Regions from separate parts of the Homo sapiens genome. Here region 2 is linked to region 1. The links are contacts of gene promoters, found by promoter capture Hi-C in blood cells and fetal thymus (Javierre and others, 2016). All regions are on one chromosome and are shown on one strand. The core of a region is centred on a gene start or on the middle of the fragment in contact, and the rest is flanking DNA. Distances in the headings are between cores, read along the strand shown. Region 1 holds the start of MCU (mitochondrial calcium uniporter). Region 2 overlaps MCU (mitochondrial calcium uniporter).

Region 1 (2,968 bases), core at 368-2,867:
GCAATAAAGCCTTTTGAGTGAGTGACATGATATCTACCCCGGAGAAGCCAATCATCTCACTGTTTTGGTGTAGGTGGGGCATAAGGATTAAACAAACAAAAAACTTCCACGTCATTTTTTAGCTATTCTTGGCCAAGAAGGTACCATTTCAGTCAAACTTTAAAGAATATTCTTAGAATAAGTGATAACATTTTCTTCGTATTTATGTGTGTGTTTTGTTTTTGTTTTAAATTTATCATCTAAGGCTACACTACAAAGATGTTTTCCAAAATTTAAAATAATGCTTGTATTTGCTTCCCAAACTATTTTCCTGCTCCAGATTTTAAAAAGAGGTGTGAGAATTTAATCAGCTCATAATAATAAACAGCTAGCAAGGAAATACTCTTCTAAGGAAATTCAGGACCCAAAATCTTTCTTAGGCAGTATTCAAGGAGCCCTCATTGTGAGTTTAAGTGGAAAGAAGTGTTTTTCAAGAGAAAGTGTTTGTTATTCCAAAGCGTATTCTGATAACTATTTCGGCAAAATTATGAAGCATCATTAAAATAGCCTTTTACATGAATTTTTTTTTTTTTTTTTGAGATGGAGTCTTGCTGTGTCGCCCAGGCTGGAGTGCAATGGCCCGATCTCGGTTCACTGCAAGCTCCGTCTCCCGGGTTCACACCATTCTCCTGCCTCAGCCTCCGGAATAGCTGGGACTATAAGCGCCCGCCACCACGCCTGGCTAATTTTTTGTATTTTTAGTACAGATGGGGTTTCACCGTGTTAGCCAGGATGGTCTCGATCTCCTGACCTCGTGATCCGCCCGCCTCTGCCTCCCAAAGTGCTGGGATTACAGGCGTGAGCCACCGCGCCCGGCCTTACATGATTTTTTATTACGTTATTAATGTGTTCTGTTTCTGTAAATGCACACAAAGTCAAATATGATAAAATAGTGCTGTTTCTGGAGAGTGTGAGAATATCCGTATAAAGGTGCTGTAAAAATGAATTGGGTATTTGAGATGTATACACGTCAGTTAATTCACTCTGAAGGCATGTACTCATTCTGGGACTTTGATATTGTAATCGTTCTACCTCTCCTATATTATGCTACGCATCACAGTCATTAGATCACTCCGTGATGTAGAGTTAATTTCAGCATATCTAAATATTATCAGTTATGAATGATAATTCTAGGCGTGTAGTTGAGAGTTACAGCATACACCGTTAATGGTTATTAATTTGGTGCCTATTTTGCCAACTTAGAACACTCACTTAGAACTCAACTTCGAACAAAGCTTTTCACAAATATCTATATCCCCCGTTACTCTTATCATAGCTCTATTGTTGGTGAAGATTAGCCGAACTGAACATGCCATCTCTATTGCTGTTATTTTCACGGGTTTGGGTGTCAATTATGGGTTCCCTAGAATTTGCCCGTAATTGACTATGTCCCACTATAGGTAACTCTGGAAGGGACTGGCAGCTTCCAGTGTGGTTCTCCCGCCTGTCGATTGGACCTTGCAGGAAGCCCCGCCTCATCAACTCAGTCAAGGGCTTTAGTTGGCCCGGCGTCGGTGAGTGGCGGGTCTTAGCTCCGCCCTGGCCGTCCGCTGCGCTGCCTGGGTCGGCGCCGTTTCCAGTTGAGAGATGGCGGCCGCCGCAGGTAGATCGCTCCTGCTGCTCCTCTCCTCTCGGGGCGGCGGCGGCGGGGGCGCCGGCGGCTGCGGGGCGCTGACTGCCGGCTGCTTCCCTGGGCTGGGCGTCAGCCGCCACCGGCAGCAGCAGCACCACCGGACGGTGAGCGAGCGCGCCCGGAGGCTCCGGGGAGGGCGGGGCGGCGCTGGCGTGTGGGAGCCGCCGGCGGGCAGGCCGCCGGGGCAGCAGGCGAGTTACCTCAACTCCCGGCCGCTCCGGAGGTTGCCGGGCACCGAGGAGCCGCCGTGCCCTTCAGGCGCCTGCGGCGGCGACCAGGAAGGGAGGGCGGGCGGGAGGAAGCCGAGAGGAGGAGGAGGGGCGACGGCGGGGATGTTCCCGCAGGACTGGGGACACCAGGGCGGGGAAGGCACGGGACTTGAACCTCTCCCCGACTCGCCCCCAATCGCGTTCCCTCCCTTCTTCGTTCTTAACAGCCCTGCCCCAAGGCTCCCTGAACGGAGCCAGATGGAAGTTGTCCCCTTTCCCTCCTCCTCCGGGCGGGTTGGGGAGTTCTGAGTTGCCGCGGCCGCCTTGTGTGTGCCAGGAGAGTGGCAGTGCCATGCTGCTGGGAGCTGCCCCGGAGAGCAGCCCAGGACCCCGGCGGGGCCGCCCCTCGTCCTCTCTCGTCCCCGAGGGGTCGGGCAGGAAGGAAAATCAAACTTTATTCCCCTCTGTGACTTCCTCTGTGTGTGTGCATGGGGAACCGGCTCCCTCGAGATGGATGCTGCATTGCTTCAGGAGGCAAGCTTCATCCTCTTGGGTCCTTAAAGGTGCTTTTGGGGGTCCTTTCGAGGGCTACTGTATAAGCGTGTTCACGCGTGCCTGAAGCGGGAAGGGTGGTCAGCAGGCACAGGAGAAGCGAATATGGTAAGTTGTTGACAGAGGCAGAGATTTGGTGGTTGTATTAACCAGTTGTTGCTGGGTTTCATTGGCTGGCAGAAAAAGAGGATTTCTGTTTGAACACTCTTGGGTGAGTGTGTGTGTGTGTGTGTGTGTGTGTGAGAGAGAGAGAGACAGAGTGTGAGAGAGATTTCTTTTTTCAATTGCAAGAGATGAATTTGGCATGGAGTTCTTAACCTAACAAGTCAGGAGGTTTCCTTCCCTTGGACTTTCTAGACCTATATGTGTTGGTCTCTGGCCAGCTCTGAGGGAAAGAATGTAGGTTTTATTTGCTGGGGCTGAGTTGTATAGTGTGATTATTGGAGGATCACTGCAAACAGCTTGATAGGAGAAACTACAATAGTACCTTCAACCCTCAATAAACACATCGCCTGCCTTGTTCTGATCATAACTC
Region 2 (2,794 bases), core at 174-2,673, 120 kb after region 1:
CAGAAACTAAGACTTGAGGCAGTCAGTGGAACTTGCTCCAAACCACAAAGCTAATAAATGGAAGAGCTGGGATTCAAATCCATTTGTGACTTTAGGGCCTCTGCTCTTAACCACTGAATTATATTAATATTCATAGAAAAAAGAAGGAACAAAAAGAAGCAAAAAGGGTGATGGTAGACTTGATGAGACTTGGAATTGGCTGGGAGTACAAAGTGAAGACTCTAAAATGGCTATGGGTCTTAAAGCCTGAGAGACTGACCAAAAAGTTTGACGTACAATTAATTGAAATCGGAAACATTGGAGTGGAGCAGGTTTGGGAACATATTTTACTTCAGGGACTTAGAGGTATATTTGATAGAGCTATTCTAATAAGCAGCTAGAAATTTGAATCTGAAAATCAGTACAGAAAGGACTCAAGACATTATTTTCATTGAGATAATAACTTGAAGTTCTAAGAAAGGTTGAGCTCTCCAAACAGAATAAGTATGAAAAAACAAGGGCAAAGAATAAGCCTTGATGAGTATTTTGGGGATAGCTGGAAGAGCAAGAAGGCAATAAAGGAGACATAGAAGTGGTCAAAGACAGTAGAGTAAGAAGTAAATTCAGGAACTCCTAGAGTGTCATAGAATTCAAAGAAAAGAATTTCAGGAGGGAGGAGGTAGTCAGCAGTATCAAATGTTTCCAAGAAGGCATAATAGTATGAGAAATGAGAAAATATCAGTGGGAAGTAGGATTAGTGAAGGCAGGCTTCTGTGTGTGCATGTGTGTGTGTGTTTGTATGTGTGTGCGCGTGAACATATGTGTATGGGGGTGGACATAGTGTAGAACTAGACATGTCTAAGGTTGGAGAAAGGAGCTATTGAAGTTGGAGACATTAAAGATGCAAGAGAGAAGAACTAACTGAAGAAGTAAAGGTATTCACCTTGCAAAGGAGTGGGGAGACTTCTTTCCCTGTGTTAGAGTGAAAGAAGAGAAAAAAAGAAAATTGAGAGAAACTTGGTGTTGGAGAAGAGAGGAATTGTGAGGGTGAATTTCAGAAATTTCCTATTTTACTGGTTTCAGTAAAATAAGAGGTGACGTCTTTGACTGAGAGGCAGGAAACAGTTCTGAACAACTTCTGTAGGGAAGAAGTCTGAGAGTCCACTGACATATGTGAAAGCATTTAGTGAGTAACATGATTTTGTAGTGACATCAGTTAAGACAATTATGTTGCCTTTTTTTTTTTTTTTTTTTTTTTTTGACGGAGTTTCGCTCTTGTTGCCCAGGCTGGAGTTCAGTGGTGCAATCTCGGCTCACTGCAACCTCTGCCTCCCGGGTTGAAGTGATTCTCCTGCCTCAGCCTCCCAAGTAGCTGGGATTACAGGCGCCTGCCACCACGCCCAGCTAGGTTGTTGTTGTTGTTGTTGTTGTTGTTGTTTTGTATTTTTAGTAGAGACAGGGTTTCACTATGTTGGCCAGGCTGGTCTTGAACTCCTGACCTCAGGTGATCTACCTGCCTCAGCCTCCCAAAGTGCTGGGATTACAGGTGTGAGCCACTGCGCCTGGTCTGTGTTGCCTTTTTCTCATAGGCCTTGCTTTATCCCACAGCAGGAGTTGATGAAATAAATTTACCAGAAAGTAAGGATTGGCACAGTAGGTCTAGGAGGTCAAGGAAACCAAAATGCCAGAGAACATAGTTAAAATAAGGCTTATACTGAGTATGGAGATAGTAGAGAAAGGACAATAGGCCTGGAGAATATTGAAAAGACTTGGTAACTTCTATTGGTTATATCCAGTAAGAAACCTCCAACCTGCTCAGCACATGCTTTTAGAAATAGCTATTCAGTGTATACTTTATTAGTTTACCAACTGGGGTCACCCTTTGAACCAAAATAAACATGAATCTTTTACTGCCAATTTCTCAAGGCGAAAATGCGTAATTTATAATGTAGGAAAGATAGGCTATAAAATAGTTGATAAGATTTAAGTCTAGATTGCCTTTTCAGTTCGGTTGTGGTGGCTGTTGTTTGAGAAAAAGGTTATTGATGTTAAAGGATAGTTGCATTCTAGACGCAATGAGCCAAAATAGAATTTGTTGCGAACTTGTTAATGTGTTCATGTGTGTTTTTTGTTGAAGTGAGTTGACATTTTTATGACAAACATTTTTTTGTGTCTGTTGTAGTTGTTCAATGAGAAGAGGGCCAATATAACCAATAGACTTGGTCCTCTACTAATCTGAATAATAAGACTTGTTTTGTAAGACCTGTGGGGTCCCTTCAGATTATTCTTACAATTGGATTTTCTTTTCTTAACTAAGCAGCTACTCAATCTCTCTTTGCTTTTCTTTCAATGACATTAGAGTTCCAGAGCAAGAGGAAAGGAATCTTTCACTCAGTTTAGTTTGATTGAAAAGGCCCACTTAATTAAAATGTGTAAGTTGTCTTTGAGCTTATCATTTAATGATTTTCTTCTATCTCTGTATTAAGAGACTAAGTAATGATAATGTTTTGAATTTTTGCAAAATAAATTTCATGTTAACTAACTTATCTTTGAAGATAAAAGATAATTTCTCAAGATAACATGTTTTGAAAAGAATTTTACCAAAAGACCATACTGGCTTTTTCAGTATTATTTTCATATACATAGAATTCTGAATGCTGTCTTTTCCTTTATTACAGATATATTCAGAAACATTTCCCTGTATCTTCCTTCTTGTTTAGTTAAAAAATAAATTTTATTCAGCCAACCCTGTGTTCCTTGTCATTTATGTACTAGATACACTTGAAAACAGTTTCCTATATTGAATGTATTTTAG

The links. The method cuts DNA at HindIII sites, captures the fragments that hold promoters and counts their contacts. A CHiCAGO score of 5 or more calls a contact.
Region 2: a contact is called between a fragment that was not itself captured here and the fragment with the promoter of MCU in region 1, in 2 of 17 cell types (endothelial precursors and megakaryocytes). The highest score is 5.7, in endothelial precursors.

What each region holds. Positions count from the first base shown.
Region 1 is chr10:72,690,526-72,693,493 of GRCh38, forward strand. MCU (mitochondrial calcium uniporter) reads left to right here and starts at 1,618. Exons shown (of 8, transcript NM_138357.3): 1 at 1,618-1,776. The coding sequence starts at 1,627. RefSeq lists enhancers at 1,236-1,295, 2,966-2,968 and silencers at 1,496-1,955, 2,046-2,095, 2,116-2,205. The HindIII fragment of the contact is 1,146 bases long and covers 1,273-2,418 here.
Region 2 is chr10:72,809,248-72,812,041 of GRCh38, forward strand. All of the region lies in intron 1 of MCU (mitochondrial calcium uniporter), which reads left to right. Among named protein-coding and RNA genes, the nearest start is that of OIT3, 83 kb to the right of the region's middle. The HindIII fragment of the contact is 4,167 bases long and covers 1-2,794 here.